Linked DNA regions of Homo sapiens: region 2 is linked to region 1. The links are contacts of gene promoters, found by promoter capture Hi-C in blood cells and fetal thymus (Javierre and others, 2016). All regions are on one chromosome and are shown on one strand. Each heading gives the region's core, a stretch centred on a gene start or on the middle of the fragment in contact. The rest is flanking DNA. Distances are from core to core; before and after follow the strand shown. Region 1 holds the start of APH1B (aph-1B gamma-secretase subunit). Region 2 overlaps SNX1 (sorting nexin 1).

Evidence for each region. Contacts are between HindIII fragments. The CHiCAGO score rates a contact against its expected background, and 5 or more counts as called.
Region 2: a contact is called between a fragment that was not itself captured here and the fragment with the promoter of APH1B in region 1, in 1 of 17 cell types (naive B cells). The highest score is 5.0, in naive B cells.

The regions. Positions count from the first base shown.
Region 1 is chr15:63,275,365-63,281,710 of GRCh38, forward strand. It overlaps APH1B (aph-1B gamma-secretase subunit), which reads left to right and starts at 2,241. Exons shown (of 6, transcript NM_031301.4): 1 at 2,241-2,372; 2 at 3,797-3,967. The coding sequence starts at 2,260. LOC124903504 (a long non-coding RNA gene) reads left to right here. Exons shown (of 2, transcript XR_007064674.1): 2 at 654-1,488. RefSeq lists silencers at 1,768-2,187, 2,268-2,547. The HindIII fragment of the contact is 9,433 bases long and covers 1-3,200 here.
Region 2 is chr15:64,121,416-64,127,761 of GRCh38, forward strand. It overlaps SNX1 (sorting nexin 1), which reads left to right. Exons shown (of 15, transcript NM_003099.5): 5 at 2,088-2,131; 6 at 4,664-4,805; 7 at 5,759-5,837; 8 at 6,316-6,346. Among named protein-coding and RNA genes, the nearest start is that of SNX22, 27 kb to the right of the region's middle. The HindIII fragment of the contact is 2,711 bases long and covers 1,956-4,666 here.

The DNA of each region.
Region 1 (6,346 bases), core at 991-3,490:
AATTCTATTCTATATACTCTCACGGCTTCAGGTATTCTGGTCTCAGCTCTGATGTTCAGTCCATTTCTCTCCTGATCCTGTATATGTAGTTGCCTACTGAACACCTCCATTTGGAGTGCTACAAGTATCTCAGTCTCAAGGCATCCAAAATGAAGGCCAGGCACGGTGGCTCATGCCTGTAATCCCAGCACTTTGGGAGGCCGAGGTGGGCAAGTCACTTGAGGCCAGGAGTTCGAGACTGGCCTGGCCAACATTGTTCACACTGTCTCTACTAAAATACGAAAATAACCCAGGCATGGTGGCGCGTGCCTATAGTCCCAGCTACTCTGGAGGCTGAGGCAGGATAATTGCTTGAACTCGGGAGGCAGAGGTTGCAGTGAGCTGAGATCACACCACTGCACTCCAGCCTGGGCGACAGAGTGAGACTATGTCTCCAAAACAGTAACAACAAAATAACAAAATGGTACTCATTATCGTGTCTACTTTGCCATATTCTCTCCTCCTCCTGTCTCCACAGCATCCACTTAAGCCCGAACCCTCTAGAAGCCCTCATCCTTGACTCTTCCCCCATCTCACTCTATGTAGCTCATTAGTCACTAAATTCTGTTTGTACAATTCCTAAACTTCTATTAAATTTGTCTGCTTCCCTCCAGAGTCCTGCTAATTCCCTGAATCAGGCCACTGCCATCTCATGCCTGCGTTGCACTGAGGACCTCCAGTCTGGAAGCTCATTTTCCATATCTTTACAAAGCAGATCTATCACTCTGAACTGTTGTCTCGACCCGAGTTTTGATAGGTATTGTGCTGGGATCTGACCATTCAAAATACAATCACTGGAATCTGAAGAAGTATTCTGTGGGAGTGAATGGAAATATATATGACTTTTAAATGGGCAAAGGTAATGTTTTTCTGTAAGAATTAAATACCTGCAGTTGTATTATTTGAAGGTGCATTTTCAGGGGCGAGCTGCAAAACATCTGTCAGGTCCCAACATTTGTCTACTGGTGTTTTTTTAAATGTGGATTGCCAAAATCTTTATTCATGATGGACATTATGTAGGAGTGGTTAATACTTACATAGCACTTACCTGTGTCAGGCACACTGATCAAAATAACCGACGAAGTATTATTCAACATAAAGAAAAATCTAACTTGGATGTGAATGATCAGAGAACTTAAGTTTTAATTTTTAAACCTTTCAGAAATTGTTAATATAGATGTTTATAACTTCCACCTTTTAAATTATTTCACTTATTGAACAGATATTAGTGAACTTCTAGGTGCTGAGGAAACAACAAAGAGCAAAGCAAAGTCCCTGTCCCCCAGGAGTTCGCGTTTTAACGGGGAAGAAAAATAAGCAAGTGAAATGGACGACTGTGAGAAGACGGAGCAGGGAGATGTTACTATTGCTTGTAGGGTGGTCACAGAATGCCTGCAAAAACAACCCTTTTGAAGAATTGGGAAAAAAATAAAAACCATTTGGCTGAAACAGCCCTGAGAAGGGCAGCTTCTTCCACCACTCTTTCATCATTTTACCATCTGTGGGTTATCCCCGGGGTCACTGCTATCCCAGCCTAGGTTTTATACAGGATGGAGTACGAAGTTCCCGCAACTATCCAAACGGTAAAATGTGCTTAAAAAAAAAAAAAAACCTATTTAAAAAGGAATCCTGCTTGTTCCTGCGCTACATTTTTGTTTAGTCTCTTTGGTTGACTTGGAATCTCTGCCTGTTCTCGGTGCATGCGGCTCGAAGGTGGGCTAGGGAGCTTCCCTTCTCTTAACCACCTCGCGGCCGGCACTGGAACCCGATCGGAGTGTATCTGTGGGGCTGCGGCGATGGCTGGGGCCCTAACGTCGCCGAGGACGCCCGCCTCGGGAGCAGGAGCTGCGGCGTGGCCCTGGCGCTTCCGGACACCCGGTAGGGCGGAGGGCCCAACGGTGGGGTCCGCGCTCACCGCCTTGAGCCCGCCCCTGCGCCCGGCGCCCTCAGCCCACGCCCCGCCCAGTCCCCCAGGCCCTAGCGTTTACCCCCACGCCCCGCCTCGCCCCGCGACCCACGTACCCCGCCTCCGAGCCCCGCCCCCGCCCCCACGTGCCCCGCCCCCGAGCCCCGCCCCCGTCCCCGTGCCTGCCCATGAGCCGCGCCCCGCCCCCCGCGTCCCGCTTAGCCCCCCACCCCGAGCCCCACCCACCGAACCCCGCCCGCGCCGGGAGCATCTCGCGTCCCCAACGGGCCCCCGGGTCGGTTTCCGCGGTGGCCATGACTGCGGCCGTGTTCTTCGGCTGCGCCTTCATTGCCTTCGGGCCTGCGCTCGCCCTTTATGTCTTCACCATCGCCACCGAGCCGTTGCGTATCATCTTCCTCATCGCCGGGTGAGGCGGTCGCGTCGGGAAACCCGGACGCCGGGGCTCCCCTCCCCCGCTGGGGTTACCCGCGACCCTCGGCGCCCCCACCGCGCGGCTCGACCTTGTTGCGTTTCAGACGGGAGGAGGGTTGAGAGGGGGAGAGCGGAGATCCGGCTCCCCAAAGGCGCCTCGCCCTCTTAGGAAGAAGCGCACACTGGGGGTCAGGGCCTTTTGCCTGGGGCTCATGGGTGGGGTTTAGTGATCCGTGAAGCTACTAAAGTTGTATAAAAAAATTATGGATAAGTTCATATATGCATCCTTCATTTTCTGGAGGGGGAGTCCCTAATTTCCCTCAGATTCTCAAAGGCATGTGTAATCCCCAAAGGGTTAAAAACCATTGGCGTTTAGGATAGTAGTGCGCGACTTCCGCCTATTAGAATCACCTGTGGCCAGGTGCTTTAAAACATGCCGATGCCCACCCCCACCCCGATCCATTGAATCAGAATGTCTAGGGGATGGGATTCGGGCTTCAGAAAAAAAAAAAAAAATTTAAGCTCCTTTTGGATGGTTCCGTTGTGCAGCCGAAGGGTGGAAACCTGTAAAAACACCGAAGCACCTGACTGTGCGTCTCCTTCTGGGAGCTTGGTAAATACCGGACTCTGGTGTCCCATCGCAGTCATCACCTGCCTCTTACTTGCACATACCACATCCCCCCTCCTCTGATGAGTCTCTCTTGGCACCAGACTAGGCCAATGATTCCCGCTTTTCTGCGTTTCTTCACCTCCCACAAACGTATTGAAAGTGCTTCGCTGCATGTCATTTTAAAAATAATAGAGATTTGGGAAGGGTCTGTAAAGCTTGCTATAATCATTAGAATCCCCAGGGGTGCTGTAAGACCTGGAGGGCTTGGATACTGATCCAGATCAGAACACAGGTTTTCAAGTTGAATTTTATACCAGTCACTTTATTAATAGAGATGTAGATATTTTTCTGGAAAAGATACTCATCTTTGCAGATATCTGATCAGTAAATCCATAATTTCTTGTAAGTTTTAAGAATATGAAAATTGCAGTAATCAGGGTTGTGTATTTTCTTGTTTTGGCTCATCAATGGGCAGAGCATTGATTAGAAAGAGTAGCAAATAACCAAGTTTCTAGCTAGATAGTCCTTGGCAGATAGAGTCTGCAGATGTACTTGCAAGTAGCAGGGTCATTGAAAAAAGTAATTGTTGGGAAACCTCAGCCTTCCTCTTGGACACGTTTGTCTCACCAAGGAAAATGCACCGTTAAGAACAACTGATCAGAGTATCACTTTATGAGGACTTTCTTTTCCTTATTGAAACGTCAAGAAATCTCTTCCTTCTCAAGCAGGTTTTTTTTTTTTTCCTGCTTTTAAACATTATTAATCCTGTACTGATGTTCACTTGTAACTTTTTTTCCCGTATTTTTCAGAGCTTTCTTCTGGTTGGTGTCTCTACTGATTTCGTCCCTTGTTTGGTTCATGGCAAGAGTCATTATTGACAACAAAGATGGACCAACACAGAAATATCTGCTGATCTTTGGAGCGTTTGTCTCTGTCTATATCCAAGAAATGTTCCGATTTGCATATTATAAACTCTTAAAGTAAGTTAAATACCTGCCTTACCTTTTTTTTCCCCAGTTAGATTTTAGTTATGATTTGGTCATTTGAAACGTGAATATAGTATTGTATCTATGCCCTCCTACATAGTACTAAGCCAAGAGATTGGTACATTTCCAGCCTGAAAATCTTGAGTGTTCTTTTATCTTGTGGAAATTTCTTATTTCCTTCCTTTCTTCCTTTATTCAAAAAAATATTTCTTGAGAATCAATCCCAGACACTATCCTAGGTACTGGGGATACATCAGTGATTAAAAGACAGAGTCTCTGGCTTCATGGAGCTTATATTATAGTAGGAAGAGACAGACAATAAATGAATGAACAAGAAATACACTGGTATAGTAGGTAAGTGTCATGGAGACAAACAAGCTAGGGAAGCATTAAAACAACTACAGAAATCATTCCAGCTTAGAATGTATATGTTCTCTTTGCCACCACCTAAGTTAATTCTTTTTTTTTTTTTTTTTGAGACAGAGTTTTCGCTCCTGTTGCCCAGGCTGGAGTGCAATGGTGCAATCTCAGCTCACGGCAACCTCTGCCTCCTGGGTTCAAGCGATTCTCCTGCCTCAGCCTCCCGAGTAGCTGGGATTACAGGTGTGCACCACCATGCCCGGCTAATTTTTGTAATTTTAGTAGAGACAGGGTTTCACCATGTTCGCCAGGCTGGTTTCAAACTCCTGACCTCCAGTGATCCGCCCACCTTGGCCTCCCAAAGTGTTAGGATTACAGGCCTGAGCCACCACACCCGGCCAAGATAAATAATTCTTATGGAGACCATGCCTTCCATTATTTTGACTTTAGTAGGGGAAAACAGGAGTTCCTTTTGTGGTATTTCCTGTAGTTTTAAATCTATAATAGAAAATCACATTTTAAAAAATGCCTTGGGTTCCCTTGTTGGGCCAGAAAGTAGGTCTTCTCTAGGACTCACGAGGACCTCACATGAAACCACTGATTTGAAACACAGCTGGAACTTGGAACCATATTTCCTTTCAGGCAGTCATGAAATTGGCTTTGATTATGTAGTAAGTCTTAATAGAGTGATAAATGTGCTGTCTTTTTTCATTTGTACAAATGAAGTAATTAAGGCTGTCCATGAATTTCGTGGATATAACCAAGAGGAACCTCAACAACAACTCTTTTCATAGGCTTCTGTTAACTTGTTCTTGCCAATATGCTAGGTTTTCTGTATTTGTTACTCTTTGCTTTTAATACCAGATACTGAATTCCCTTTTCGTAATGAAGGAATTTAAATTAGGAATTGAAATCCAGGAAGCCATTGCTTAGAAGCAAAAATCATATCTTAGAAAAGTTTCAAAAATGAAATTCCCATTAGTACCTGGAAATATTACATGGGAATAAATAAATATCAAAGGTAACACTGAAATTTCCATGGTAATACAACATCCCTAACAGATGGACATCTAGCTGTGTTTGAATGTTTCTGGTATGTGGCAGTTACTACCATTCTACAATTTTAAGCTTTAACTGTAGAATATCATTAAGGTAACCACATCTACCTCTGCTGGGCTTGGTGGCTCATGCCTGTAACCCTGACATTTTGGGAAAGCAAGGTAGGCCAATTGCTTGAGCTGAGGATTTCGAGACTAGCCTGGGCAACATGGCAAAACCCTGTCTCTACAACAAATACAAAAATTAACTGGGCATAGTGGTCCCAGCTCCTCGGGAGGTTGAGGTGGGAGGATCACTTGAATCTAGGAGGCGGAGGTTGCAGTGAGCCGTGATTGCACCACTGTGCTCCATTCTGGGAGACAGAGCCAGACCCTGTCTAAAAAAAAAACAAACAAGCAAAAACAAAAACTCCCTTCTGACCGCTGCCTTACTCAAGTACCAGGTAAATGAAGTCTCTGCTGCATGGTTATAATTATCTCCCTTTCAAGAATGAACAGTCCTCATTTCTTCACCTGGACCTCAACAGGCATGGTTGTGGCTTCCAAACCTTTCCAAAAGAAAGGCTGTTTGTTCTTTTTGGTCAGTGGACATGACCCTTTTTGTCAGCGCCTGGTTTTTGCCTGTGCTCAGAACCCAGCATGGTATTCTGCAGTGCAGACTAAGTAGTACCCCTGACTGGGCACTGTACTCTTCACAGCTCAGCCTCACATTGCACTGGGTTTTCCTGTCAGTGACATCATTGGCCCATATGCATTTTCATGCCATGGGTCTAATTTTGAAAAAAAAAAAAAAAAACAAAAAAAAACACAATTTCTAATACAGAATTTAAAGTTTAGGACTTGTATGTTCTAAAACCTGAATTATCAGCGTGACAAAATGAGTATGGGCTGTTCTTCACTGCCTTGCATCTTCATGGTTTCCACCTGAAATGGCAACATTTTCCTGGCACTAACT
Region 2 (6,346 bases), core at 2,061-4,560, 850 kb after region 1:
TCTCTGCCTTTGCTGTCATGTGGCATCCTTCCTAAGCGTCTCCACATTGCCTTCCCTCTATGCATGTCTATCTCTGTGTGCACATTCCCTCTTTAACAAATAAGGACACCAACCTGAGTGGAGTAGGGCCCACCCTAATGTCTTCATTTTAACTCAGTTACATCGGTAAAGACCCTGTAAGATCACATTCTGAGGAACTGGGAGTTAGAACGTAAAATGTACCTATTTTGAAGGGGACACAATTTATCCCATTACAGAGAGTAATTTAAACAGCCCATGGATCAGATGCATTTAAACACAAATCACTCTTGGTGATAAGTTTTCACCTCCTTGCCCTGTAGTCTAGATTCTTAGTCATGTTGATGCCAAGAAACCAGCTAATTAAAATATTTTCATATTCAAGGCCTGATCTTTATAACAACGCATTCTGTTTGTGTGGGCTGTTTATTCAACATGTGCTTCTTGTTCCTGCACACGTCTAAATAATTTAGAATTCAACTTTTACCAGGATATGCTTTTTAGAGCCTTGGTAATTTGCATATGTTATCTTCAACTCTGAAATTATTCTGGAAATTTACGTAAATTTAAAACCTTGTATTACTAGCTTATTTGCAGATCTGTGTGCTCTCTATGTACATGCAGTATGTCTCTTTTCATGTACATTGCCTAAGTAAAAGCAGCTGAGAAACAAAATATCTGAAGATCCTGCTTTTCTGTTTTCTCTGTGTTTGCATTTAGACTTTCTTAACTGCAGGCACTAAATTATGGGATTGACTTCTTGGACATTTGACCATAACTATTCTGCTGTGAATGAAATTTTGAATATTACTTCTATAAAATAAACTTAGATTTCTTTTTTTTTTTTCTTTTATCAGTAGTAAACATCCTTAGTAGTATTGGGTAATGTTAATAAGGTGGTTTAGAAGAGAACTAAAGTTGGTAATCAGTATAAAATAATTTCTAAAGTTTAGCTTATGGTTTCTGTTTTATATACACCCTTTTGGTAGGGGCTGGGGAAGTATAGCAGACAAGCCCTGTATTCCTGTGTAATCTTCAAATTCTTGGTAAATTTTTCAAAAAGCAGGCATTTCCAGCCATCTTACTGAAACCAAGTTGTAATGTGGGAAGCTGCTGATCCAGTACTGCCTGCTCTTCCTTCCCTTGGCCCCTCACCCCTCACCCCAGAACCAGTTCAGGGGCTTAAGCAGCTGGTAACTGTTGACCTAGGTTTTCCGGTTTGATGTGGGAAGGAATCAAGGGTGGGGGAGGCAGGGAACAAAACCAACCCCAAACACCATAGTCCAGCACTGGAGCTGTGTCTGTTTGGATTCCAGAATATGTCTTTTCAGTGCTCAGGATATCAATGGCATCTTTATCTCCTTAAGTGGTCTAGGTCAGGACATCACCACAGAGAAAAACAATAGCTTGAATCCCAAATTATTTAACAGTCAAAGACTTCTTCATAAAAATAATTGCTCCAGGAAAGGGAGATTTGTGTGACATTAGGCAGCCAAAGTGTCTTCCTGCCAGACCCTTTGCTCTTGGTGAACATGCTAGATCAGAGAGGTCAGTGTCCCCCCCGGCACCAATGGAGGGGGTTGTGACGATATTTCTGAAAGAGCAAATCGAGCCCAGAGCTAGCCTAGGGTAGAACTACTTGTTTCCTTTTATATCAGTTGCTTCCTTCTCCTCCTGCTTTATACAGCAAGAGAATTGTTTGGTTTTGGACAGATGTGTGTAACCAGCCCAAATATTGGCATGGTAACAACTGATGGATTGTCAGTATCCAGTGCTGCTTTGTGGAGGGTATAAATGGAGCCTGGCCTGGCTTTGGAACAGAGGGCTGACTCTCTTGTGTAACTCAAACTGGGGCTCAGCCAGCATCCATGGGGGCTTGCTATGTGCCACAGAGGCCCTGAGGCAAAGTAGGAACTGGATTCTAAGATTGCATATAAAGCTTGGAGATGAAACAAGCATCCCTTCTTATCCAGGGTTCCTATGGCTTTTATGATTCCTGGTCAAATGTTAGCTGGATTGGCACTGCTTTGGTTTACAAGATAATCTTCTGCTTTCTTGTTCTCTCACAGGGGATGGTATGAATGCATATGTAGCCTACAAAGTTACAACACAGGTGAGTCCAGGTGACCCTGCTGATGACCATCTTCATAGACTTTGGTGCTTATACCAAGGTCATCATTCAGATTATTTCTGGGTATCTCCTTTGTTTCTTTGCCAACATCTTCATGTTTACTCAAGATAGAGCAAGCCTGCATCCCCTTGGTAATCTCATCTGGGTACTCCAGACTGAGTCTTTTTAATACTCTTCCAGAAAGCTAACATTTCAGTGTGATTCTATTAACTCGTGGTATATCTGATACAGCCCCATCCCTCTTAGAGAACCATGTGGTTTGGAGCTAGATTCACAGATTGCCCTAAACCATCTTTTAAAATCTTCAATGCTTCTGAGGTTTCAGAGAGCTTTTTTAAATACTTAACCTTTTGCCCCTCTAGTCTGCTCTTCTTTTGTATATAATATTAATGCATACAAAATGTATACAATGTTGTATACAAGTTAGGAAGCATAATAAATGAAGCCCTAAACTTACCACTAGTCTTAAAGTTGAGTATCATTGGATCCACCTGCGTGTTTTTCCATCATATCCCCTGCCTCATACCTTAGAGGTGTCCTTTCTCCTGAGTTGTCTCTCATTTCCTTTATAAGAAATCTTTACATATATATATATATATATATATATATATATATGACTGTTTTGCTTTGTTTTGAGTTTCATAAAAATAGTATCATGGGGGCCGGTCACGGTGGCTCACGCCTGTAATTCCAGCACTTTGGGAGGCTGAGACGGGCAGATCACAAGGTCAGGAGATCGAGACCATCCTGGCTAACACAGGGAAACCCTGTCTCTACTAAAAATACAAAAAAATTAGCTGGGCATGGTGGCAGGCACCTGTAGCCCCAGCTGCTGGGGAGGCTGAGGCAGGAGAATGGCGTGAACCCGGGAGGCGGAGCTTGCAGTGAGCCGAGATCGCGCCACTGCACTCCAGCCTGGGCGACAGAGGGAGACTCTGTCTCAAAAAAAAAAAAAAAAAAATAGTATCATGCTGATAATTGTGCTTGCTTTATTTAGCATTGTTTCTCTCACCCATCCTTGATGGTCATGGCTGTAGTTAGTTCATATACCACAAAATATTTATGTTTTCCTGTTGTGAACATTTTCTGCTGTCAACATGTTTCTGGTTTTTGTAACTGGGAACTTTCTTGCACATCTCTAGTACACACGTAGAAGGATTTCTCTAGAGTATGTAACCAGGAGTAATTCCCGTGGGTCATAGGTACTGCAAATATTGGACACAAGGAATACAAACTGTTTTTTAAAGTCTTTGTACCAATTTGTACCCCATCAGCAGTGTATAAAAGTTCCCATTGATTCACTTCCTTGCCAGCAATTGGTGAGGCCAACCTCCTTAAATTTTGCCTATCTGGTGAGTTTAAAGTGAACTCTCATTGTGATGTAGCCCTAACTTTTTTGGTAGAAATCTGCTTTGTATTGTCTCTCTACTACTTGTTGGCCTGCGTCCTGTGAGCTCTAGATTATGATACTTTAGAGGTTACTGTCTACAGCTTAGACATTTCATCCAATTCCCACCCTGCTCATCACCTGCTTCCCCTTCTTAGAAGCACTTTTTGTCTGTCTTTAGTTTGGCTGCTGTAATTCCAGCAGCTAATACCCTTAAATAAGTCAATGAGGCTTGGCGCAGTGGCTCACGCCTGTAATCCCAGCACTTTGGGAGGCTGAGGCAGGTGGATCACCTGAGGTCAGGAGTTCGAGAGCAGCCCGGCCAACATGGTGAAACCCCATCTCTACTAAAAAACTATAAAAATTAGCTGGGCCTGGTGGCAGGAGCCTGTAATCCCAGCCACTCAGGAGGCTGAGACAAGAGAATTGCTTGAACCTGGGAGGTGGAGGTTGCAGTGAGCCAAGATTGCACCACTGCACTCCAGCCTGGGTGACAGAGTGAGACTCCATCTCAAAAAAAAAAAAAAAAAAAAGCAGTGAAGAATGAGCTGGGCATGGTAGCGTGTGCCTGTATTCCTAGCTACTTGGGAGGCTGAGGTGGGAGGATCGCTTAAGCCCAGGAGTTTGAGGCTGCAGTAAGCTGTGATCGCACCAATGCACTCCAGCCTGGGCAACAAAGTGAGATCCTGTCTCCAAAAAAAAATAGTCAATAAAAGATGAATGGGTTACTGGTTACTATAGAATTCTAGCTTTAAACTAGAACTGAACATTTCTTTCTTTAGAACAAGAGTTCTTAACCTGGGAATGAAACTGTATTTGAATTTTTTTTTCTCAAGGGTCACCATGGCTTCAGATGTATTTGAATTTAATTGATTGCCTTTATAATCCTATATATTTTTTGCATTTAAAATCATTATTCTGAGAAGAGCTCCTTAGGCTCCCAGACTGCCAAAGGGGAACTATAGTTTTAAAAAGTTTAAGACTCTCTGCCTTGGAGAAAGTTATTTGCCAGGTGACTGAAGGGCAGGGATCTGGGAAATGGGTTTCTTTAATGTCAATAGGATGACTTTCAAGATACCATCCCCTATTTGGAATGAAATTGCCTTGTGTTTTTTCCTGTCCCCAAGACAAGCTTACCATTGTTCAGAAGCAAACAGTTTGCAGTAAAAAGAAGATTTAGTGACTTTCTGGGTCTTTATGAGAAGCTTTCCGAGAAGCACTCTCAGAATGGCTTCATTGTCCCTCCGCCCCCGGAGAAGAGCCTCATAGGTAAGCCTGTGGTCTTTCATTCCACTTGGATTGTTTTCCTTTGCATTCTCTCCAAAATTCACTCACTGTTCAGTATATGAGACTACTTCTATTAACAGTCTTGTGGTTAGAAAAGAGACATTTCCAGTGTTTTCCTACACTGGAGGTCTAGAGAAAAATAGCATATTTTGGCATGTTCTCCTTGGGTGCAGTAGGAGCTCTGGGTTTAGCCTCCAGAGATGTTCGTTTGTTTTCTGTTGGTCTTCAGGAGTCTTACATGATTGCGGTTGCCTCCAGATTGAAATAGACTACATTGGATTAGGGGTCAGAGGAAGAAACCTCTTCATTTTGTTTGTTTGTTTGGTTGGTTTTTTGGTTTTTGTTTGTTTGTTTGTTTTTGAGGTGGAGTCTCGCTCTGTCACCAGGTTGGAGTGCAGTGGCGCGATCTCAGCTCACTGAAACCTCCACCTTCCGGGTTCAAGAGATTCTCCTGCCTCAGCCTCCCGCTTAGCTGGGACTACAGGTGCCCGCCACCATGCCCAGCTAATTTTTGTATTTTTAGTAGAAACAGGGTTTTACCACGTTGGCCAGGATGGTCTTGATCTCTTGACCTCGTGGTCCGCCCGCCTTGGCCTCCCAAAGTGCTGGGATTACAGGTGTGTGCCACTGCGCCCGGCCAGGAGCCTCTTCATTAACATCAGTTGATGTTTGTACTCAGGGTTCCATGGCCGCCTTTTTAAGAAAATGTTTACTCTGCAAGTCCTAGAGTTTAGAACCTTCAGCACTTAGAGACTAGTTTTCAAAAGTGGCTCTCATGTAAAGAACCTTTTGTTCATCCCTGCATATAACATAGAAGTGGCCTTAGGCTGTGTGCTAGCCTCACTGCCTTTCCTCCTGTTGACACTTAAAAAAAAAAAAGATTTATCCTCTTCATGATGATTTATGGTTATTTTGCTTTTTAAATTCCATTCTAGGGATGACAAAAGTGAAAGTTGGGAAGGAAGATTCTTCTTCTGCAGAATTTCTTGAAAAACGGAGGGCCGCTTTAGAAAGGTAAGTGCCATGCAGCCATTTTCCTGAATAATGTGAGGACAAATGAAAAGCTGAAAAGTGAGTCTAAATGACGAGACAGTCCATTGAGTTAGAGATGAAACGTGAATAAATTGAAGTTGCACACCTCCATATTATCTCTTAACTTTTCCTGAGTCGCTTATTTTCCCACCTTGAGAATAGACCATCTTCTGTTTTTTCCCCATCCTGAGTGAGCAGGCAGTCATATTCTTAGACAATCAATCAAATATGAATGGCTCTGAGGTTTCTTTCTGACCAGTTATTTTTCCCTCCCTTTTTGGAAATGTCAGGAATGTGAACTTGAATATGCTTACAAGGAGAGACCTACTTAAGTACCTTATCTTAGGGTACTTTAAGTACAAAAAGTACAGAAGACATGGTATCACTGCCAGCACTGTGTGACGCCCAGAACCTTCTGAGGCCAGCTCAACTAACCAGATGATAACTGCTTACCTTTTAGGTACCTTCAGAGGATTGTAAATCATCCTACC